7 separate regions of the Homo sapiens genome follow, and all the other regions are linked to region 7. The links are contacts of gene promoters, found by promoter capture Hi-C in blood cells and fetal thymus (Javierre and others, 2016). All regions are on one chromosome and are shown on one strand. The core of a region is centred on a gene start or on the middle of the fragment in contact, and the rest is flanking DNA. Distances in the headings are between cores, read along the strand shown.

Region 1 (3,405 bases), core at 487-2,986, 1.2 Mb before region 7:
AAGCTGCCTATTGGATTAGGGCAAGATGGAAGTTAGTGGTTAACTCTAAAGATCTCTGTTTCAGGGCTCAGAGATGGGAAACAAAGCCCAGCGGAAGTGGCATAAAGAGGAAATGGAATGTGAGAAAGTAGAGGCAGCAACTGCCCTCCTAAGAAGTGCAACTTCTTACAACTTTTCTCAGGCATTTTGCTGTGCATGGAAGCAAAGAATTGAGATGAAACCGGCTGGAGATTCAGACTTACGGGGAGAGTTTTTTGAGGATCTTTCTTCCTTAGAAAGATGATATTTTTGCATGATGTTAAGGTTTATATCCTGATAGTAATGATCTAATAGGAAGAAATTGATGGTGCAAGAGCAAAAGGAGATATTTTCAGAGTGGGAGAAGTATTTGAGTAAGTGAGAAAGAATGGACTCCAAGGTGTGAGCAGGGACGCTTTTTTGTGGTAAGAAGGCAGAACCTATGAGGATGAGATCAGGCAGGCTGATGGGTTGGCTAATGGGGAATGAGGTAGCAATCATGTTTCTATCCATGTTCCCTAGGAAGAAAGATGCAGTCACATGTTAAAAATTGGGTTTGAAACAGAAAGCATGTTGGAGAAAAGAGGTGTGAAATAATCTTTTTGGAAAAGAAACAAGTGAATTTATTTAGCTACTAGTAGAATTGCCTGACAGTTCTGTGTACCCAAATTGATAATGCTAATTAAAAGGAAATCACACCTCTGTGCATGTGGAAGGGGGTGTTTGTGCATGTGTGTGTGTATGTGTGTGTGTGCACGCGTGCATTTATGTGTTTCACTCCAGCAACATTCAGCTGCTTAGGTGCTGGTGCAATGAACCAGGTACTTACAATAGACGCAGCAAAAGGCAAAGGAGTTGAGGTTAATGGAAAGGGAGTGGCTATGGTGTCACAGTATGGAATCCATGCTGAGTAAATTGGAAAATAAGGACATAAGAAGGTCTAAGTAACTTTAATATATGATAGTCAAGGAAACTCTGCTCTAGCCCACACTACTCTTTTGGAGAAAGCTAAGAGTCAGTTCTACATACTTTGTCCCTCAGGGACACAGAATTTACCACTATTCCTGCTTCACTCCATCAGCTTGTATTAATTGAATCTGCTCTGCATCAGGGGCTGTGCCTGAGACCAAGGAAGGGAAATTTAAAAATTAAAAGGATGCTTTTCCTGCCCTTGAAGTTCAAAGTTTTATTCCTAAGAAAACCTGATTCTCTAGGCCGATCCCATGTCTCTCTTCTCTTGCACCCTTGCCTTGCTCTCCTGGGGAGGAAAGATTTCCCAAGGGCTGACACATGTCTCCTGCTCATGCCAGTGACATGAGAACCCCTCTGACTGACATGTCAGTGGCTTCAAAACGGAAGAGGTGTATAGCAAGCAGTCGAGACAGCAAAGTGTAAGCTCAGCGGTTAGAAGACACAACCTTCAGTTCTGAATCTGCCTCTGGCTAAGAGTGTGCCACATCTGGACCTCAGTTCCAGCACTTGTAAAATTAAGAAATTAAACAGGAGATACGAGATCTCTTCTAGGCCTAGTATTTTGCAAACTAGGTCTCTGGAAGCCTTTGTAAATGTATGTTTCATGTAAGTCTCCATTTCTGCTAAAACGTCTAGAATTTAGTCTAAGTTGTCAAAAATGTTCTCAAAGAGTGAAGGAGTTGACCTGATGTGGTCTGGGAAGTTAACAATTATTCTGTAGCAGGAATTCATTGATTCAGTGAAAATCTGTTCCATTCACTACTACCTAGAAGAATGTAGGATACTGAGGCCAGAACCTCTTTGGCTATGAAGGCCTCATTGAAACTCCTTGGCTATGCAGCCCGCGTTTTGATGAAGAGGAAGATTTTGTTACCATTGAGCACTGTTGAGAGAGATTGTGTGTGTGTGTGTGTTTGTGTGTTTGTATGTTTGTTTTGAGTGAATTGAGCAGCAGGAGAAAGCATAAAAATGGAGGAAGAGGACTGACTACCCACAGACTCACCATTTAAAAAATAGAGGAGGTCTTAGAGATTTTATAACTCATCCATGAGAGTGAGAAAACTAAGGCCCAGAGGAGCAAGCATAGGCCAACTCACTCATCTCTGGAGCAGCAGAGCCAAGCCTAGAAGGCATATGTTCAGACTCCCAGTTTAGTGCTCTCTCTCTATAGTTAACTATTCTTTAAAAAATAGTTACATATTTCTCCTCTCCAGTTTCAATGATTGCATAATTGCCTCTCCAATTCACAATTCTGCACCAGGCATGCTAGTGGTGTGTTATGTTGTGTGAACAAATAAGTGGAAAATGTATTTTGATCATAGAAGTACAGCAGGTGACAGTTCATGGATTTGGGGTTAAAAATAATATAATCTCTGTGACCTTGGGGAATAGAGCCAGTGATGCTTCCCTGAGCTCCTACATCACTAAGAACCAAATCATCCATTCTAAACAGGCCTTTTTTTGCTTGTGACTATGATATCTGCTGCTACTAAAGCAGGAGGCCTAGAATTTCCCTAACAAGGAGGCCCCTACTGCCTTAAAGTCTGAGGGACTCCTGGTTTACATTTAGGGCTGCCCAGGCCCCAGTGTCCCCCTATTCGGCTATCCTCACAAACAGCACTTCCCTACTTTCTTTCTTTCTTTTGGCCAGGAGGTGGCTCTGTAATACATGTTGGGATTAGATACCAAGGAGCCTAGCAATAAAGTCCCTGAAAAATCTATGATCAATACTAGTTAAGAAAGGAAAACAGATGTTCTTTTGCTTATGTAGATGAGATGCTTGAATGTTCACTAACATACATATGCAAATACAGAATAAATGGATTTCCAAAACTCAGTAGCTCCAAAGGACTCTGGAAGACAATAGTCCAAATTTACCACCAGTGTGGATACATGGATCAGGGGAAGCACTGCTGATTTGCTGAACAAAAGACAGGGTCAAATTTCAAGCACAACAAGCACAGCTCTAAATAGGATAAACACACGGGAGAGAAAATGCATAGTAGGAGGGTAGAGATGAGATAATCCAGGGGGTCCTGCTGACTGATATTCAGCGCAAAAAGGAGGAGGGAGTCCTGATGGGAAGCCAGCAGAAACAAAGGCAAAAGGATCAGCATCCCCAGGAAAGGGGAAAAGGCAATTGTGTTGATCAAATGTAATCTGGTTCCTGACATTGCTGATGCTTCATTCATGAGAAGTAGCTTCAGTCAGGAATCTGCCCTCCCTCCATCCACCGTACGTATGCACACATTTAGAAAGTCTTAGTATAAATATCAGTAAGTCTTAAACTCATAGAACATTGGAGCAGAAAGGGTCACGGGATCACTTAATTTGTTCATTTTCCAGATGGGGGCACTAAGCCAGGCAGAGACCACAGACTTTGCCCCAACCTTAGTTTTAGGTGAAATGGGCTTT
Region 2 (3,377 bases), core at 386-2,885, 1.3 Mb before region 7:
TTGCAAGCCATTTTCAAACAAATCCAGAGTGTTCCTCTTCTATGAGGTCTTATACCTAGTGTGTGGCCATACCACCATGAACGTGACCAATCTCATCTGATCTTGGAAACTAAGCAGGTTTGGGCCTGGTTAGTACTTGCATAGAAGGAGCTCTTATAGAAAAACATACCTTCCTGAAAAACATACCCTTATTCCTAGATTTTTGGGGAAGTGCATCTCACTCTGAGTACAGCCACCTCCTTTGCTCTGCTCTCAGGGCAGGACGAAGCATAAGTTCCCATCTTGAGTCTTTTCCAAGGCAGGATAAAATACCGGTCCCTGTGTCCCTTGACCTCCAATGAACACAAGTCAAGTGTTCCAGGTCGTTCTCATTTAGACCCTTTCACCTGACTTGAGGTGAGGGGAACACCTCTACCCTCCTTATGCAGGCTGGAGGTGTGTGCTCAGTTTATGAACAGAGGGCCAGTTAATGGCTACTCCCTATGCAAAACCTACACAGAATGTCCGTAATCTCACTTTAAAATGCAGTTGTGTTTGAAATCTGTCATTTCACCTTTGACCTTAGAAGTCATTGCTTATGAAAATGTCCTGTAATTTCCTGTTATGCTTTTGTATTGTGCCAGCAACCTAAAACAAAAGTTCTTCTTAGAAATCATACCTAAAAATTTTCTTATGCAAATGTCTTTGATGACCCTATTCACTACTTCAAACACTATTCTTGGCAGACAGTGCTAGTTACCTATTCAGTTTCCAGTCTCTCTTTCTTCCCTGATGATGAAAAACTGATTTTATTTGGTGGGGTATTCAGCCTGGTTAAAAAAGATTCATCCTCAGACTTCCTTGAAAATAGATATTAACATGTGACCCTATTCTGTTCACTGAGATACGAGTGGCAATTACTGGTTGAGGTTTCTGAGAAAGCTTTTAAAAAGGACAAAGTTGATTCACACCCTTTTGCCTTGTGCTCTTTTCTCCTCCTTTCTGTCTGGCCTGCAGACATGATGCTTGAAGTACAGCTGCCATCTTAAGACCATAAAATCAAAACCACACAGTACAGATGGCAGAGCAGGAAGATAAGAGGGGCCCAGCTCACTGAATCATTGTCTTACTCTACAATGCCAATACTCGAACTTGTTACATGCTGCAACTAAATCTGTTATTCTGTAAACCACTTTCTGAGGGATTTTCTGTTGCTGGCAATTGAATTCGTTGTGTTTCTGACTGATAGAGTTCTCTGAGAATGCAGTATCTTTCTACCTGGAGTAAGGAGGAGGTAAAATACAACAATGCACATGCACACACACTCTTCTGAGAACAATGAGATGCTCCCCAATTATTTTCTCCAGCTCTCATAAAACTTGCCTGGGAGAGGGAGCAGCAGTAAAGACAGTAAAAATAAAAAGCTGTTTCTCTAAGATTTCCCTGATATGTGGAAATTACAAGACTGCCTTGTTTTGTATACTAAATCACAAGACATAACATCAAGGATTTCTTTCTCATGGAGCTATGGTTTGATTATGCAGGAATATGGAATGAATGTGTCCAACTGCACATTTACTCACTAATTCTATGATGGAGTATTTCCTCTGTGCCCAGGATAGCCAGAATGGAGAAGAGGCAGGAGAAAGCATCACACTGTGTGGCCTCCTTGGTCTGACAGCAGTTTTGATACCCCCAGGGCATATCACTAGCTTTTGAAATTAGTGAATTCATGGGAAGGGGTGTTTGTAAAAAAATGAAAAAAAATCTTTTAGGGTCCTGGCAAGCAGCATAAAGATGTGTGAAATGTGAAGTGACAGATATAAGACAATTGGTAATGGTGGGGTCTGTCAAACTAGAGAGGGCAAGCTGGCTTAAAGGATTGAGCCAGCATTTAAAAAATTCATTGCTAACTCCCCACCCCCTAAAGAAACATGTTGTATAGAGCTATCCAAAGAGAGATAAAAAGTTTTTCTTTCTGGGTTTATTGAGGATAGTTGCAAAAGGAGACAACAAAGGGGAAAACAGAAGCAAAATAATATAGCCAATATGTCTCTTGCTAGCTAAGGGAAATATTTTATGAGCCCTAAGAAACTGCTCAGGAACCCCAAGATTTAATTAGGGAATAACTGAGTAGGTCCTTAACTCTCATAATTGGTAGATACAAAGCCAAATAATGTACTTTTGTTATTATAATTATGTCTTCATTTTTATCTTCAACCTGATATAGCCCGGACATTTCTTGTTTCTGTGAATAGTTTTGCAGTTATGTTGATGGGTAATAAAGTACATTCATTTCAGGCACCATACATTTCAATCATCTTTGACCACATAGGACATGATCAATAAGTGTTTGTTGAACTAATGAAGGAAGCTTCAGTTGTGCCTGGTAATATTAGTGATGATGATGATAAAAGCTATGATAATACTAACAGTAAATATGATTTATTGAGTGATTATTGTGTATAAGACAGTATCCATGGATAATCTTTAAAGGTGACAAAACAGTGTTGAGGAGGAGTTATAAAAATTTGTGAAGCCAGCTTGAGGCAGAGCAGGATGGCTGAATAGAAGCCTCTGCTGATTGTCCTCCCTGCAGGAACACCAAATTGAACAACCATCCATACAAGAAAGCAACTTCATGAGAACCAAATATCAAGTGAGTGATCACACTACCTGGTTTTAACTTTATATCACTGAAAGAGGCACTGAAGAGGGTAGGACAGACAGTCTTGAATTTCCAATGCCACCCACCACCCCATCCACCTGTGGTGGCTGTGTAGCATGGATAAATAATCTATGTGCTTTGGGGAGTGAGAGTGCAGTATTGTGGGACTTTGCATTGGAACTCAATGCTGCCCTGTCACAGTGGAAAGCAACACTGGCCAGAACTTAGACAGTGCCCACAGAGAGAGCATTCAGACAGCTGTATCCAGAGTGGAATCAACCATCTTAGCAGTCAGAATGTGAGTTCTGGCAAGTCTTTCCATCACAGACCAAAGTGCTCTGGAATCCTAAATAAATTTGAAAGGTAGTCTAGCCACAAAAACTGCAGTTGCTGGGCAAGTCCTGGTGTTGTGCTGCATTTGGAGCCAGTGGACTTTGGGAGCATGTGACCTAGTGAGACACCAGCTGGGAAGGCCAAGGGAGGGCTCGCATTACCTCTTCCCCAACGCCAGGGACTGCAGCTTACAGCTCTGGGAGAACTCCTTCCTTCCACTTGAGGAGAGGAAAGAGTAAAGAGGACTTTATTTTGCAACTTGGATACCAGCTGAGCCCCAGTAGAATATAGCATTAGGCAGAGTCCTGAGGCCCCCATCTCAAGCCCTAGCTCCTGGATGACATTTCTAGACACACCCATTGCCCTGAAGGGAAAGACCCAGTCCTGGAAGGATTCA
Region 3 (3,486 bases), core at 856-3,355, 1.2 Mb before region 7:
ATTGTTTGTTGTTTTTTATCACTGTTATTATTAACAAATTAATTAATCAGATAATTAAAATATGTACCTTTCAATTATTTGATTATGATTAGTATAATAAGAGTATACAGCATAGTCAGAATTTAAACCCTGGGCAGGTAGACTCCAAAACTCCTACTCCTGACTATTCTACTATGTGATAACCTTCTACTATTAATGTCTACGAGTTCAAACCTTAATAAATATAAAAGTGAATCAACTATGTGGTGATCCAATTGACTTGCCTTGTTATTCTAATCCATGTGGCATTTATATAGGTTCTTGAGTCAGATATTTTGTCATGATTAATTTTATGTATCAACTTGATAGGGTTATGGGGTGCCCAGATATTATTATTTATTACTTATTATTTCTGGGTGTGTTTGTCAGGATGTTTCCAGGTGAGGTTAGTATTATTGTATTGTATTGTATTGTATTGTATTGTATTGTATTGTATTGTATTATATTTTACTTGTGACAGGGCCTCATTCTGTCACCCAGGCTCACTACAGCCTTGACCACCTGGGTTTAAGCTATCCTCCCACCTCAGCCTCCTGAGAAGCTAGGACCACAGGAATGTACCATCATGCCTGGCCAGTTTTTGTTTAAAAATTATTTGTAGAGACAAGGTCTCATGTTGCCCAGACTGGCTCAAACTCCTGGGCTCAAGTAATCCTCCAGACTTGGCCACCAAAATTGCTGGGATTACAGGCATGAACTCTGGGCTAAGATTAGCATTTTAATAGGTGGGCTCAGTAAAGCAGATTGGCCTCCCCAATATGGATGAACATCATTCAACTTTTTGAGGGCCTGAATAGAACAAAAGGTGGAGGAAGGAAGAATTCACTACTTCTTGTGCCTGATAAGTGAGCTGGAACATTGGTCTCCTTCTGCTCTTGGACTGGGATTTATACCATTGGCTTTTCTGGTTCTTAGGCCTTTTGACACAGACTTAATTGCACCACTGGATTTCTACAGCTTCTGCTTGCAAATAGCAGATCATTGGATTTGTCAAGTTCCATAATTGCATGAGCCAAATCCTCATTTAAAAAGCCCTTTCTGTATGCGTATTATTGGTCTGCTTTTCGGAATATGCTAATACACAACCATTGATGGAACACTTCCTAGTTCTATGAACCTTCAATCAGTTAATTACCCAAGTCTCAACTTCCTCATTTTTAAAATGGGGATAATAATATGACCTCATGGAGTTATTGTGAAGATAAAATCAGATAATAATTGTGAAGTGTTTTGAATGGTATTTGGCACATATTAAGTGCTTAATAAATGTTAACTCTTCTTATTAAACACAAAACTTAGATGCTACCCATAATTGTGGCTAATGGGTTTTCTTATGGACAAAGTCCATGCTGTCAGTTAACAATAAGAATAACAAATACCACCACCCATGACAGCATCAAGAAATGTCAGCTAGGCCGGGCACAGTGGCTCATGCCTGTAATCCCAGCACTTTGGGAGGTTGAGGCGGGAAGATCACATGTGGTCGGCGCATTCGAGACCAGCTGACCAACATGGAGAAACCCCATCTCTACTAAAAATACAAAATTAGCCGGGCATGGTGGCGCATGCCTGTAATCCCAGCTACTTGGGAGGCTGAGGCAGGAGAATCGCTTGAACCCGGGAGGCGGAGGTTGCAGTGAGCAGAGATTGTGCCATTGCACTCCAGCCTGAGCAACAAGAGCGAAACTCTGTCTAAAGAAAAAACAAAAAGAAAGAAAGAAATGTCAACTGTCACAGGCAAAATAGAGCTAAGCTTTATTGCCCTCAGTTGAAGGTACTAGGGGGCCTTAGTTTTGCTGTGATTCACTGTAGCCTATGCAGCAGGCCCACTAACCCATATGGCCTTTAGATGAATTAGAAATGGGCACTCCTTCTTTTGCCATGGCGTACTGATTTTGTTGGAATAGGAAGCATCACTGACATCTTCCAGAAAGCTGTCATAGTAAATATGCTGCTCTGTGATGTCTAGGATGTGGATCATTCCTCCTGAGATGTGGTGTTGTATGTGGAGGCTCTGCCTATCAGCATGGCTTATACAAGCATCAGTTTTTATAGATTGTGAAACAATCTTTAGAAACCAGTGCATAACATATCCATGAAGTCTTGTTAGAGTATCATGTCAACCTATTTTGCCCAGCAAGACTTTATAACAGGACACATGTTGGGAGAACAACAAGAGCACCTATGCTGTAGTCTTTTTACTTAATCATGAAGAAAAATGCTTTAACTAAATTATATTATTTAGTGCCTAATTTACCAAGTATAACCAAATCTATAATAAAGTGATAGTCTCATTGAAAAGGATACTGTTATGTTTATTGTTTATTTAACATTTTCCCTTTAGTAAGTATTAAAGGTAACACTGGCTATTTACAATTTTTAAGCTTTGTAAAAAGTTTGTCCATACAAAGAGTTAATGAATACAACCTGCTAAAACTGCCCAGCCCATAAATATATTTTAAAGTCACTTTTCCTGTCCCTGCTTCTGATCCAGGCAGTTATGCACCAGGCCTATGCTGGTGCGTAGGCCTAACCTGGTTTAGCTGTAGATTCTTGCAGTTCACAGAATCAGTACTGTGTGGAGCACTTCTATCTGCCCCAATACCTTACCAGTTCTGCTTTCAAACCTCAAAGACACTGATCTCATTCAATGCTGTTTACTTCAGTTCCTTATTTGCCTTGTTCTTTGAATTTGGCATGTGCTGCTTTCTACAACAAGGATATTAACTCCTCTAGACAACCAGCCTGATTTTTATTTTCAGAATCACTATCAGGGATCATTTAAGTAATCAGTTCCTTATTTGAATTGAGCCTCCAAGGATCTTTCTAACTCAGCTCTCTTCTATTAGATTTTAAGTTATTTGAGGACATGGGTTGTGTCACATTCACATCCAGAGCTTATCATGTTCAACAATAAAGATGTCTTGAATGTTGTTGGATTAAATTAGTGTGACTTAGAAGGCTCTCACAATATTCCAATAGGGCAAAAGTATAAAATATGAAGTAGCTCAGTATCTATAGAGTATACAAAGGTGACATGCAAACAACAATAGAGGATTGGGTGACAAAATGGAGGTTCCAGTCTAAGTGACTGAGAATAGTGGTAGAATGAAAACGACTTTGAGAAATGTTGAAAAAGATGACACGTTTTCAGCTCACTCAGTTATACATATGAGGCAGTCATGTTGGGGTGTAGACCTCACAAACTCACTACCTAAGAGCAACAAACTATGAGGAAGTTTAGAAATGGAAGTCATGTACTCCTAAGTATTAATATATACTGCACAAAAGAAAGTAAAATCTTGGCATTCTTTCTTGACCTGAGGGTTGTAAACACATAAATCAAGAAATTCAGAGAGAGAAGTCAGCAGAAAAATCTACTGGGGTTTGGGGCACAGAGTTTAGTGCTTTGCCTCATGTCAACTCCTCTGAGTCCCTGGTAAGTCT
Region 4 (3,542 bases), core at 79-2,578, 1.4 Mb before region 7:
CCGAAGGACATCTTATATTAGCTTGCTTACCTAACATCTTGTCTTCTTGTTATTATTTTTCCTGTTACTAGAGTGCAGCAAAAGTAAAAAGGTAGTTTCCTGATAGCGTATATTCTCAGGAGTCCTTCCTGTAGAATATTCATGGTGATAAGATTCAGGAGAGCAGGTGCTATGAAATTAGCTGTGCTCTTTCATAGGAGTCTTGCATGAGCTTGATGGTTGGCCAAAGCAACAAAGGCTGAGGGAGACAAATTGATTTGGTGGGAGTCACATGTCTAATTAGGGGATCCAGCACAGTAGGTTTTGTTCCCTCTCCTCTCCAATACACACTGCTTCAGAGTCCACCCCCCAAAATTGCTTAAGGCTGCTATGATCCCCGAGGCAAAAGTATCTTCTGAATGAAGAAAACACTGATTTGATTTGTTTCTTCACAAGTTATACTCCCAGATGGTGCCTCCAGACTCACAGAATCTCAATAACATTTTATTTCCTTTCAGGCCATGGCTGATTTGCAGTGCTTTTCCATTTATAATTTTGAAGCTGAATACCTTTATGACTTTTCTGTTTCCTTTTTCTTTCAACTTGGAGCTGGAATTAAACTGAAGAATTTAGAAAAAAATAGTTGTAAGCCGTTAAGGGGAGATTGTAAAGACGTACAAACAAAAGGTCTGAAGAAGGAAAGAAAAAAGAAGAAAATTGGAGGGGTTGGAAGAAAAGTGGGGAATCTGGCCAACATTACTCAGTACTACATGAGCCAGAGCTTTACTAACTACTTGTCTATGATGCCTCATTTCATCTTATGACAGACCAGAAAAATTAAATAATATGTCCAAGATCCCATAATAAACAAATTGTGGGAAAGGGCTTTGGATTGAAGACTGTTTAACCTCAGGACCTATGCTCTTTTAACCACAACTTGCTGGGGGGATGCTGAATAACACAAAGGCTGAATGCAGATCAAGTAAGGGACGGATTGGAAGGCAGAGGGAGATGAATAGGTTTATCTTCTTATTCTCCCAGTTAGAACAGAGTGCCTGAGCTGGCGGGCACATTGAAGCATCCTCTGATTTCCAGCTTGTGTGCTGAAAACCAAGAGAAAAACAACCCGTGAGGCTTTCAGGAATTTAATTCAGATGATATGCTTCTTTCTTTCCATTTTCTTTGGATTTCATGAGCCTCTAAACAGTTGTACTGGTCTCAAAGTTCTGTTTCAAGTACCCTCCTCTTCCCCTCTTGATTCCCTCCCCACCAAGGATGACACATTTACTTCTGAAAACCTTAAGCAGAAATCTACTCCAATTGGGTCATTGAGGTCAGAGTTCCTAGACAAAAAGGTAATGAAGAGAGATGTCTCAGCAGAAAATAAGGACTGGAGTCAACCCTGGGCCTCAGTTACTTGGGTGATCATCTCAGATTCCTGATGTCCTCATAATACACACACCACAACTCATTCCAGCATTACTTAGCTGCCTGAAGTTTAAACTATGAGATTATTATTATTATTCACTTTCTGGGATCAGAAGAATAAGAGGTAAAGAAAGACAATGGTAGTCTTATTTGCTCATTTATTTATTCACTCAACATCTCTGCTATGCTGTGGGGGAAAAACAAATGCAGAATGTGCACAGTCTCCACTTTTGAGGAGATTAAAGTGCTGTAGACACTGACCCAAGATTTGAGAGTAATAAGGCAGATTTAAGGCAGTGGAATGAATATGGACAAGTACCTAAACACAGTGTAGAAAACAGGTATTAAAATTATCAGGAAGAGAAGAGGGTAGAGTGGGTTAAATGAGAGGCAAAATTAGGTGGTTGAAGGAGCACAGAGAGGGGCTTGAAGGTTTCCATTTCCCCTCCCAGAGCACAGGGACTTGGACACCAGACTGGGGCTGTTGGATGGGATGTCCCTGGAGCCTCAGTGACATTTGCCTGCGAGCTGACTTCAACGAATGAAACAGAGGGGAATGATTAAGAGGTGGTGTCCAGAGACAAAACCAAAGCCAGAGGAAGGCAGACAGTCTACCCAGTGATTGGAGAGGGACGCATGGAAGGGAGTCACCATGGCGACTGGGCCAATGCCTGATGGTCCTTCTCAGAGGCCGCATAGTGAGGTGTTCAAGCAGTTTCTGAAGCCAGGTTTACTGGCTTTCAATCCTGACTTCATGGCTTACTCTCTGAGAGACCCAGAGACAGTTACTTGACCTTCTTGTTTTACAATTTCCTCATGTTTAAAACGTCATTGATTATTATGGTACCCACCTAGGATACCATACCATCCTAGGAGTAGATTGTACAATTGAGTTAGTGTGGGTAAAGTGCTATGAATAGTTTCTGGCACATTGTAAGTGGTTAAAAACTGCTATTTATTATTAGTTATTAGTAGTTAAGGCCACTTCTCTAAATTCAATTTGGGCTACTAGTAACATTTTGAGAATGATTTTCAAGTCTCATCCTTATCAATCTCTTTGTCAACAGGCACTGCCATTCCTCAGCCCATTCCAGACAGAGCAGAAGAGAGAAAAGAAGAAATAAAGCAAAAGAAACAAGAGAGAGTAAAAGAAGCTCCCATGGTTTTTCTCTGAGAATTTCACTGGGGATCTAATTTTAAAGAAGGGGACATGAAGATTGAAGAAAGAACACATAATTTCAACCATTTTGTTAAATGAAATTTGTTGGCTCTATAAAAACGCTTCTGTTTTGGTTATGTCCTCTAGTTTTCCCTGGTTTTCCTTACAAAGAATAATAATTCTGTTCTGTCCTCTCCATCCCAGACTCTAAATATTCTTTTTTTTTCTCGTCCATGAAAGCAAAACTCCTAGGCTACATCCCGTGTAACTCCAGCAATGTGAGCAAGCTTTTGTTCCCAGTATTGGCAGCATTTCCCCCGTCGTTTGTCCCCCTGCCTGTCTGCAGGTCTCGGAGCAGCTCTGCTGTCGGAGATCGCAGGGAGTTGGTGGATTCAAGCCATGGGGCTTCTTTTATGAGCCAAGTGCAGAGAAAGGAGCTTTTCATATGCTCCAGCCTGCAGTCAGGTACTCCCTGGTGGGCTTCTCACAAAGCCTAGGCCCTGGAGCTCTTCCCTGGAGTTTGCATTTGTTTCCTTATAGGGCACGTTCCTGGCGATGGGTAGGAGGAAATGGCAGCCCAAATAAGCAGCTCCCTCTGCAGCCACTCTGGGCTGGTTCCCTGCTCAGCCCATAGAAGTCACTGGTTTGACCCAGTCCTCCCTAAAGCCAGCCTGAGTTCTTTATTAGTGAGCATGAAAAATGCTTCAATCATAGCACCAGATGGTACCCAAACCAATTTGGATTGTCAGCTGAGGCCTACTCATTTCCAAGGGCTTGGTCTAACATCAGTGTTATTTCCCTCAGTGCCCATCTAGCCCTAAAAGATGATCTTGCTCAGATGATTTTGATGAGAAATAATATTTTACTCTACACAGGACCACAGTCATTACTTCTTTCCATCTTTATTAATTCATTCAACAAGCTTTTATTGAGTGCCTGCTGTGTGCACTAAGCATTTTAGGGCATACCAAAGAGA
Region 5 (3,596 bases), core at 95-2,594, 1.4 Mb before region 7:
TCAGTTGAGTCCCTCTGTGGCATTCTCACATGTCATCTTGATCATTTTCTATCAAGAGCATTTGACACTGTTGGAATTATTGTATACATAGCTCACTTCCACACTAGACTTCCACATTTTTTAGTTGTTCACAGTTATGTTCTCAGGGCCTAGTATCGTGCTTGGCGCATAACAGGTGCTAATAATAATTTGTGGAGGAATGAATGGATGAAATGTGTTTCAGAAACAGTGTTTCTGTTCTGTGGGGAATTTATTTTCAAATCAGACTCTAATAAATACTTCCTCCCCAAAAGGTGAGAAACACCCTCCTCTCACCCTGGCGTATAGATCCAGTGGGGAAGAATGCTGATTGCACAGGCAGTGAGGATTAGAAAGCTGAGCTGTAGCACCAAGCAGACAAATAGATAAGCTATTCCTAATGTGGTAAGTAATTAGCACACATTTGGCAGAGTGTATTGGAAGGAGCAAACCTCCTTAGCAGTATACTTGGAAAACACTCAGGACTTAAAGCTGAGAAAAAAACAAGGAGCAGTTGCAAATAGATACTAAGAAAAATCTTTACATAGTAATAAAGACCTTGAAACATGGAAACATCATCTCGGAGAGATAAGTATGGGACAAGAACAGAATGTAATATGTGGCAGAATCTCCAAAATTAGGACTAGACGGAAGAAGAAAACTCTGGCTGTTTCTACAACCAAGATTATTTTTCTCTTGTCTTAACCAATCTAAAAAAATGTTTTTTTCTAATTTTTTAATGAGGAAGGAATTGAAGATTAGTGTACAAATTCTATTTTATCGTTGCTCTAGTTGATGTATAGGGGGTTCTTCCTAAGTTAGTTATATTCCTTAAAGTGAACATTTTCATTGGCAGTTCATATTTTTGTGTTTTTATGAAGTCCTGATTTTTTTAAACTCCTACTTTGGCCTCCCAAAGTGTGGGGATCACAGGTGTGAACCACCATGCTCAATTGTACATTTGGACTGGATAGCTGCCAGCAGTCAAAATGTTGGCTCTCAAATTAGTTAATTTGTAGTTTGGTCTAAAGAAGTTTATTTCTCTCTGGGTATGCTACCTAAAATTCCATGGACTCATTTGGAAGATTGTGAAATTCATCAAATGACTTGCCCAACCAAAGTATACAGGGGTGTCCTCATGGAAGAGAACCTACAAGGGGCTCAAGACAGCAGGAGTTCTGCCTTTGTTCTGCTATAACTGAGCATGGTCTGATGGCTTACCTCACGTCTGTGTTCTCCCATGGGTATTAGTAGTCCTATAGTGTCTCTGTAAAGAAGGACTTTGTGATCTTAGCAAAGCCTTAAAATTAGGGTTGGCAAATAAAATACAGCAAATAAACAAATATAAGTTTAGGGCGTGCTTATACTAAAAAGTTATTCATCATTTATCTGAAATTCAAATTTAACTGGGAATCCTGTATTTTTTATTTGCTAAATCTAGCAATGACAATTAAAATTAATTTATCATTAAAAGAAAAATTCCATTTCTCTCAGTTCTCTGCCCATCATGATAAAAAGCCAAAAAAAAGTTGCAGAAGGAAGTAAAAAAAAAAATTTCACTGGTGTCAATTGCTTTTTCATGCAACATAAATGTTTAATTACTGAGACTTCCTTTTCTCTTCCTTCCTTCCTTCCTTTCTTCTTTCTTTCCTTTCTTTCTTTCTTTCTTTCTTTCTTTCTTTCTTTCTTTCTTTCTTTCTTTCTTTCTTTCTTTCTTTCTTTCTTTCTCTCTCTCTCTCTCTCTCTCTTTCTTTCTTTCTTTCTTTCTTTCTTTCTTTCTTTCTTTCTCTCTTTCTTTCTTTCTTTCTTTCTTTTTTCTTTCTTTCTTTCCTTATCTTTCATCTATAACCTTGCTCTTTCACCCAAGTGGGAGTGCAGTGGCACAATCACAGCTCACTGCAGGCTCAACCTCAATCTCCTGTGCTCAAGTGATTCTCCTGCCTTGGCCTTCCAAAGTGCTAGGATTACAGGCATGAGCTACCACACCCGACCTGAGACTTCTTAAAAATAGAAAAGAGTTGACAATCTACTGAGAGAGAAGGCATTTTGAAGCCAGTGATTGGATTTCCACACATTATCTTTTGTTGTTCATGTCTCCATTAGCATAGCAGTTAGAGTGTTTTGCTGCATTTATCTCCTTTGATAAAGTTAGGTGCTTATGAGGTTGTGAACTCAATTCTCAGGAGTATAGGTTAACTTCTGGTTTAGAAGCCAAACTACATTATACACCACAACACACTAGGGACAAAAGGGGCCCTTTGATAAGTCATAAACAACCAGCTGATTGATTGGTTCTAGGAATTTAAATATCTAGGCATTCATTTTAATTAAGCACTTCATTGGAAAACACATAACACAGACTACAGTCACTAGAACTGTGACAGCTATATTGCAATTTTATAGCCCAAAATTTAATCAGCAGGTGCTGATTAATCTTGCTCTAAAAATCTTCCATAGCAAGGCAGTTGCTCAGATTCTCTATGCTTCAAAAGGGGAAGGGGGGATAGTTGATGCTGCTGAGAAAATAGATGGCCAACCTTTTACTTTTGCTCCCTAGTTTTCTGGGAGTTTTGATTTCAGCTATAAGCAAATTCCCATCTTTAGCACCAGTGTTGACATGACCATAACAATATGTTTAAGACCATAAAAGAGAACCCCATTTGGAAATTAGCCAGCTCTGAGTTTAAAGGGCTAGGTTTTCATAGCTAACTTTCAGTCAGTAAAACATAAGCTTCTCCCCAGCACAACCCCCAGCCCTCCCCATTTCCTTTCAGTTCTCTCCCCTCAAATTGCACAGGTTTCTCTCCTGGACCCATTCTATATTTTCTCACAGCTCCTCTCTGGGTCATCTCTACCTGTCATTATTTTAGCTCTTTGATTTTACTAAACAATATGTTGTTTCCCACACGTATGTTTGTCCTAGAATGCCCTCATCTTCCTTGGCTTAGTCAAATCCTCCTCATGCTTCTTTGAATGCCCAGACCAAATGTCATCCCCTCGAGAAGCTTTCTCTGTCATCCACCCCAGACTATGCCAAGTACCTCCTTCTGTGACCCCACAATTACTTTAATGTGTCTATATCACCTTGTTTATGTAGAGTGGGTAGACATTTTTACATATTTATTTTTATCTGCTTATAAAAATAAAGCTTGCTTGTTTATAGAAAAGGTGAAAATAGAAAAGTATACAAAACAAAAAATTATCAATAATTCTACCATTCAGAATACAATGCCAATATTTTTGGTGTATTATCTTCTAAACTTTTCTCTATGCATCCTATGATTGCTTAATTACAAAAATTCCCCCAATTTTCCATCCCTGCCTGTATTCTTGCCACTTGATATATGACCTTGAAGCTCCCTCTATCGAGAGATAGAATCACTTCCCCCCACCCCTTTAGTTCTTCTTATGACTTGGTTTTGAAAATAGAATGTGGCATAAGTAAGTGATGGTGTGCCTATTCTGAGCCTTGCACATTTCTGCTCTCTCGAAGCCCAGATACACTATGAGCACAACCCCAAGCTAGCCTGCTAAAGAATAGATCATTTGAAGAATAGATAAATCATCCCATCTGAGAT
Region 6 (3,411 bases), core at 794-3,293, 1.4 Mb before region 7:
GAATGCTAGATCAGGTGGTGTATAAACATGAACAGCTTTCTCTCTGAGCTGATATGTAAAGTTGAGGTAGAATGCTTCACTGAGCACCAGGCAAAATGAAACTGAATGTTCTTCAGCCACTCAAGGCAAGCTGTGAACTTCCCATTATCCTCTCTAAAGCCCAACTATCTGCTTATATATGCCTGTCCTCTCTTGCTAGTTAAGGAAATCTCTCCACCAATTCTCCCTTTTCTCTTCTACAGCATCAAATTTCCCCTTTTTTACTAGACAATTACCGTTCACATACAAGCATGCTATAATTTTCCCCATGTTTTTTAAAAAAGGAGAAAAAAAGAAAGCTTCCTGAGCCACTATTTCTCTCCAGTTACTGTCTCATATCTCTGTTGCCCATGACCACAAAACTTGCTGAAATGTTTCTCTCTACCCCCATTATCGATACATTGTACTTCTTTTACACCAGCTCCAATCAGGCATTTGCCTCCACTTCTTTACCAAAGTGCTGTTGCTAAGCTCACCCATGACCTCCCTGTTGTGAAGTTCAGTGGTCCATTCCTAGCCCTCATCTCTCTTTCTCCACCAGCAGCATTTGGCACAGATGATCAGTCTCATTACTTTACTTGGCTTCTGCAGTGCCATACTCCTAATTTACTGGTTTACTTCCTAATTCATTGACAATTCCTTCTTTTGTACCCTTTGCCGATTCTCCCTCATAGATCCTTAAACTCTAGTATGACTCTGTGGCATAATGCTCAGACTTCTTTTCTTCTCTATCTCTTATCACTTGCTGTGTGGTGCCTCCAGCCTCATGACTTTAAACATCATCTATGCTAAGGATTACCAAATACATCATTCTGATCTTGACTTCTCCCCTGAGTCCAGCTGCCTAGTCATCGTTTAATCTTGGATGTTTTGAGATGTCTTTAGGCATTTCAAACTTAACATGTCTCAAACCTCACTGTTGATCATGATCATTCCTTCACACTTGTTTATTTTCCCTTGTTTTTCCCATTTTAATAACCAGTAATTTCATTCTTATGTTTTCTAAGAGTAAAAACTTTAGTGCCATTGTTGAATTTTAATAAATATCTCATAACAAATTCACCATCCAATCTTACCAGCTCTACCTTCTAAGTTTACACAGACTCTAGCCTTTGCTCCTCACCTTTATGTTGATCCTCCTGGTTTAAGGACACCCTAATTTATGGCCTCGTTGCTTTTACCCTTGACCCCCGCTATACTCTGTTCTCTGGCTAGCCACCAGAAGTATCCTTTTAAAAGCACAAATCAGATCTTATAATTCTTCTGTCAGTGGTTTTTCATCTCAGAATAAAAGCCAATGTTCTTATAATAACCTATCAAGCGGCCAGCCACATTAACCCTCTTATGGTTTCTCCAGGGGACCAGAATAGTCCTGCTGCAAGGCCTTTGTACCTGCTGTTCCCTCTGCCTGGAATGAACTTTCTCTGGGTTTCCACGCAGCTCACTCATTCACTTCTGTCAGGTCTCGTTGCAAATGTCATCTTATCAAGGACACTGTTCCTAAACACTCTGTTTAAAATAGTACTTCCTCTGCCTCTTTCTCTGATTTTATTTTCCCTGCTACCATATATTATCACCTGACATCCTATGTATTTTACATATTAACTGTTTATTGCCTGTTTACCCATTGCTAGAATCTAAATCTTTTAAAAGTGAAATTGTCTTTTTTTCCTCACTGTCTCGTCCTTAGTGCCTACATACAGTGCCTGCCATAAAGATGGTGCTGAAGAAATATTCGTTGGTGTTTAATAAACAAAGCAACAATACTAATCAATTTCTACAATTTTTAAGTCTCATACCTTTTTCTTTAGGGATGTGGGAGACAGTGGTCATGAAGGGAGAGGCTTATTAAAAAGTTGACAATGGGGCCGGGCGCGGTGGCTCACGCCTGTAATCCCAGCACTTTGGGAAGCTGAGGCAGGCGGATCATGAAGTCAGGAGATGGAGACCATCCTGGCTAACACGGTAAAACCCCGTCCCTACTAAAAATACAAAAGATTAGCCGGGCATGGTGGCGGGCGCCTGTAGTCCCAGCTACTTGGGAAGCTGAGGCAGGAGAATGGCGTCAACCCGGGAGGCGGAGTTTGCCGTGAGCCAAGATCGCACCACTGCACTCCAGCCTGGGCGACAGAGCGAGACTCCGTATCAAAAAAAAAAAAAAAAAAAAAAAAGTTGACAATGGGCTGGGAGAGAGAGAGAGAGGAGAATTAAGTAAAATTCCACAAAAAGAATCATCATGCATGGTTCTAAAGTAACAGAAAGAATTCTTTTTCAAGACTTGGTATCTCACTTCTCACAGGTTTGCTCTACTCTAAATAACATGCCTAAACACTAGGGACCCATCTTCCACATCAGAATAATATGATTCTGCCAGTGTGTGGGATTTGGGAACTAGTGGGGAACAATTCATTTTCGGAAGAGAAGATGATCAATACATTGAGACATTAAAGCAAATGTTGTTCATTTATACATTGTACTAACCAGTCTTGAGTGCTTATGGGGTATCTTTCTTGGGACTCTGGTTAATGGTGTGAGGAGCAAAGAAAATACAGACCCTGATCTGCTTCTGTCTTCGTGTAGGCTGATCCCTGTGAAGAAGTCATGGGGGAAGGCTGGCCCAAGGTGTGTGGGTGGAGAGCGAGACAAGAAAATGGGAGCAGTCATGAAGCAGTGTCCTGAAATGTCTTGCCTTCCAAGGCCTTGGGGTTTCTGCCAAAATGTAGGTTTTGTAGGGAGGTAAGCAGCTCCAAACCTGGAAGGACATGTGGTTGAAATTATAGAAAAAAGACAAAATTATAAAGGAAGCTACTGGATGAAAGGCTGGAGTAATTTTTGTGGGGAGTAGTGAGCCCCTGTGTATACGAACATCCATGTTGATTCTCATTTATCAGAGTAAGTGCTTGCCTGGCCACATGGTTAGACTGCTCTAACAAACTGTGCCAGATGTTACCAATAAAAGAGAGTCCTTCTTTTTACATACCATTATTGGCATAATATTTTCTGTTCCCAACTCTTGTGGAGTCACTGTTGACAGCTTGATGAACTAAGGACTCACTCTCGGTTTGACTGTGTTTCAATCATGAAAGCCCAAGACTGAAAGCAGAGTTAATAAGAGCTAACTACCTGTCTTGACAGAAAAACATAATATTAGTACCTCAGGTAGGACATCCCAAGAAAAAAACGGTTTCACGTAAGAAAGTTCCCAGAGGCAGCTGTATAAAGCCCTATTGGTGGGCTTCTAGGTTCAGGATATGTGAGATGTGGATCATACATTCCCTATTGCAGATTGTGTAAGGGAGGGAAGACAGGGAAGATGGAGCAGGGAAGCTAATGACACTATCAATGTGAAACATGGACTAGACCACCTCCAAG
Region 7 (3,298 bases), core at 370-2,869:
GGTAATTCTTGGTAGATTTTGGTTCCTTCTTGCATTTTGTGGCTTTGTCCCACTAAGAGCAGTTGTTCTCAGCCCTCTGTACTGGTGGCACAATTTTGAATACTGTAATTATTTTGGTTGCATTTTGGAATGAATTTAAAGTTCTCGCAAAGGATCTTCAGCTCCATGTCACTCATCAGAGCTCTTTTCTATTTTCCAGCTCTTGCATATAGGTAACACGCGCACACACACACACACACACACACACACACAGAGTTTTTCTTGATATGCTGTCTCTTGCCTTCCACTGTCAGATCGTAACCTGATAGACTGAATTGAGTGACCCACTCACACTCAGCTCAGCATTCCTATTTCAAACACTGCTGACACACGGTATATCTTCATGTGTACCAGCAATCAGACTGTAGTCAATTAAATTGTTTTGAAAATTAGGTTTATGCACTTATCAGTTGTTTGAGAGTCTGGCAGTTTTGGCCTTAAGAGTTCCCTGTCAAAGACTATGGCGTGAAAGATCACTGCTTTCAGGCTTCTATGCTGTGATTAAATGTGGAGAGTGGTTTTGGGGACATGTGTCTTAAGGGATAAGCTAGTGAGGAATAGGTTGGGACTGGTAGGACGAGCGGCCTGTGGCACATTTCAGAGCCCTCAACCGTACCCCACACTGCATGGGCCATGACTCTCTCTTCACCCATGGATCATCTCTAGAGGGGATTCATGATGTCACCTGGAGTCTCTGCTCTCTCCAAGTGTACTGGAAAGGATTGGGTGTTGGGAAGGCATTGGAAAGCTGGTATTAGAAGAGTTAGCTGGGGAGAGATTTGACTGAAGAGAAGGAAGCGTGTTTGCAGTGTTAACGCAGTGGATCTGCCTCAAGAGGCCCAGAACTTAAGAAAGCCAGGAAGCTATTTTTCTACGACTCCCCATGTTAGTGAAGGCAATTTTTTAACGTGATATCCACTTTGAATTCTTTGATCTTTAAGAAATATGAGTAAGAGAAAAGGATAGATGGCAAGATAGATGAGGAACTTCAGAGGGGGCTAAGATTACTTTAAGGGAAAGCTAATGAGTTGTTGAATTGTTTTACATAGTGGGGTGCTATGAATAGGATGTTAAGGAAAGTTCTTCACAAATAAATGACAGAATAAAAAAAAAATAAACCTAACATAAGACAATTTTCTTTTTCAGCAAGGCACAGGGTTCTTTGGGAAGCTTCAAAAAATTCAAAAGTCATAGTGCCTTTTTTCATGGAATTCACTAAGTAGAGACTTTTTTGTAGGCATATCATTAAATGCTGGACTCTCAAGTTTTCGAAATGAGAAGTCTCCATCTGGGAGGTATAAAAGGAAACCCCCATCTGGTTGGTTTTAGCATCTTCAAGGTGAGGATACAATTCTTAAAATTGTCTACCTATTTCTGAGTCCTGGTTCAAATTCCTTTGTGATGTCTATGTCAGCTGGGACCCTGTAGGCCCCACTGAGTTGCACATCACCAAGTGTGCCCATCACTGTGGTTAGAGGCCGTGGGCTGTGTACTACAGACAATGCTGTAATTGCTTCTGTGACCAAGTGAGGGCGGAGTTTGCCCTTTATGTGATGTAGGCAATATTCTATTTTTAATAAGCCAGAAAAATCTGTTCAAATCCAGTAACTTCAAGATTTTCCAAAGACTGGAAGATGTGGAGGACGTGGGCATCAGCTGGAATCTGATTTCTCTCCCCTCCACACTTGCTCTTCCCCATTTCTCAACTGCTGTCTCCCAGTGTAATTACCATCTCAAGCATTTTCTGTTCGTCCCCTGTAGGTACACCACATCGTGCCAACAACCCATGGCCCAGCAGGAATATACAGTAGCCTTTGCCAGGGTCCACCAGGGCTTGATTACACTTCACGGCTGTAATTCAAGCCTGCTAATCCTCCTCTGCGTTCGGAAAAGAGGCCTGTTCTGTTAGATAAGCTGATTACTGTCTGGTGTGTGCTTCATGCCTAGCAAGAGTTGTTTATATGTGGAATTATTGCTGGCTGGGCTCTGTGCTTCGCTACACCGAGGAAGCTCGCTTAGGGGTCAGGGGTGTCAGGCTTCACCTCTGATCTGGGAGGGGTGAGAAGTGGAGTGTTGATTACAGCTGTTTTTCTCTCAACCTCTGTGCTGGTGGCTAAATATTTACTTTTCTCTGTTAACGGAAGGAGCCAGATAAGATTTTAAGAGTCTGAGACTTTTGCCCCTAGGACCCACTGTCAAAGATCATAGAGTGAAAGATCACTGCCCCAGACTTGCCACATTCTGATTAGGTTTGCAAGGCGATCTTAGTGGTCTTTTTGTCTTTAGGGCTACGTTAGGGAGGACTATGGCGGGACAAGTTGAGTGTGTGGTGAAATCAACAGCCACAGATTGAAGAGTGCCCGACCACAGGGAAAGGATGCCCGCAGAGACCATGTGAATGCTTTCTCACACTCAAAGATGTTTTCTTCAAAGCCACAGAAGCCTTGAAACCACCTTTGCCTCTGCCTACCAGCCCATCTCTGGTCTGGTGTGGAGCTTGTGGCTTGGGTGCAGTCTACGAAGCCCTTGCTCTTCATGGAGGAGGAAGTGCATTTTGTTATAACCGTCTGCCCAGTGATGTTGGCGTGATTTATGCTGGCTGCACTCTCAGGATTCCCATCCCTTTTGCGGGGTATTTTGTCCCCAGATGCAGAGCTGAGGTTCTGCTTAATACTGGCTTTTAAGTGTTTAAGCCCTACAAATGGCTATTCGGTTTAATGGTGTAAGGATGGGGTGAGTGCTGAAACAAGTACAGGTAAACACAAGCACCTGGCCCTTGTCACCTGCTGCATGGGCATACATTGGGGTCTGTTTGTATATTTGAATATGTGGCAGTCTACACTGGAGTAAGGAAATAAGGATGAATGTCAAAAGGCTTAATTGTGATGATATCACAATTGAGGCCATTTGTTGAGTAAACTTCCTCCACATCTCTGTATACTAATAATCGGTTTGTCAGCTTTTCTCTATGACACTATCATTTCCTTTAGGGCAGGCACTTTGTCTTTCATTTCTGTGACCGTTACCTGTCTGGCCCATAGTAACCAATCAAGGAATGGGTCTTTGATTTAGTGTATGAATAATTAATAGATTTCAGTGAAGAGGCAGCCTATCCTAGATTGAATGCGCGGTATAAATTGTTAGGTATTTATCATAGCTCATTGTACGTGGGTTCCTTCCCAGGTACCTTTCTTGCCTTTCTTTCTAGGAAGCAGAGAATCCGCATCCCCAGAAACATGGGTGTTCCTTAGGTGTAAAG

What was found. Contacts are between HindIII fragments. The CHiCAGO score rates a contact against its expected background, and 5 or more counts as called.
Region 1: a contact is called between a fragment that was not itself captured here and the fragment with the promoter of PBX1-AS1 in region 7, in 2 of 17 cell types (endothelial precursors and total B cells). The highest score is 7.2, in endothelial precursors.
Region 2: a contact is called between a fragment that was not itself captured here and the fragment with the promoter of PBX1-AS1 in region 7, in 1 of 17 cell types (fetal thymus). The highest score is 6.3, in fetal thymus.
Region 3: a fragment that was not itself captured here is called in contact with the fragment with the promoter of PBX1-AS1 in region 7 in 1 of 17 cell types (endothelial precursors); the score reaches 5.4 in endothelial precursors.
Region 4: a fragment that was not itself captured here is called in contact with the fragment with the promoter of PBX1-AS1 in region 7 in 4 of 17 cell types (naive B cells, naive CD8 T cells, total B cells and 1 more); the score reaches 7.9 in naive B cells.
Region 5: a contact is called between a fragment that was not itself captured here and the fragment with the promoter of PBX1-AS1 in region 7, in 3 of 17 cell types (total B cells, naive B cells and endothelial precursors). The highest score is 8.6, in total B cells.
Region 6: a fragment that was not itself captured here is called in contact with the fragment with the promoter of PBX1-AS1 in region 7 in 3 of 17 cell types (naive B cells, total B cells and endothelial precursors); the score reaches 8.4 in naive B cells.

What each region holds. Positions count from the first base shown.
Region 1 is chr1:163,559,096-163,562,500 of GRCh38, forward strand. No RefSeq gene overlaps it. Among named protein-coding and RNA genes, the nearest start is that of NUF2, 240 kb to the left of the region's middle. The HindIII fragment of the contact is 6,081 bases long and covers 1-3,405 here.
Region 2 is chr1:163,509,426-163,512,802 of GRCh38, forward strand. It overlaps the pseudogene RNA5SP63. Among named protein-coding and RNA genes, the nearest start is that of NUF2, 190 kb to the left of the region's middle. The HindIII fragment of the contact is 1,432 bases long and covers 920-2,351 here.
Region 3 is chr1:163,577,469-163,580,954 of GRCh38, forward strand. No RefSeq gene overlaps it. Among named protein-coding and RNA genes, the nearest start is that of NUF2, 260 kb to the left of the region's middle. The HindIII fragment of the contact is 631 bases long and covers 1,791-2,421 here.
Region 4 is chr1:163,397,194-163,400,735 of GRCh38, forward strand. No RefSeq gene overlaps it. Among named protein-coding and RNA genes, the nearest start is that of NUF2, 77 kb to the left of the region's middle. RefSeq lists an enhancer at 2,677-3,221. The HindIII fragment of the contact is 3,046 bases long and covers 1-2,851 here.
Region 5 is chr1:163,372,392-163,375,987 of GRCh38, forward strand. No RefSeq gene overlaps it. Among named protein-coding and RNA genes, the nearest start is that of NUF2, 52 kb to the left of the region's middle. The HindIII fragment of the contact is 2,805 bases long and covers 1-2,747 here.
Region 6 is chr1:163,414,889-163,418,299 of GRCh38, forward strand. No RefSeq gene overlaps it. Among named protein-coding and RNA genes, the nearest start is that of NUF2, 95 kb to the left of the region's middle. The HindIII fragment of the contact is 3,415 bases long and covers 337-3,411 here.
Region 7 is chr1:164,773,022-164,776,319 of GRCh38, forward strand. It overlaps PBX1-AS1 (PBX1 antisense RNA 1), which reads right to left and starts at 1,620. Exons shown (of 4, transcript NR_038072.1): 1 at 1,408-1,620. The region is part of intron 2 of PBX1 (PBX homeobox 1); the gene reads left to right. The HindIII fragment of the contact is 2,806 bases long and covers 1,208-3,298 here.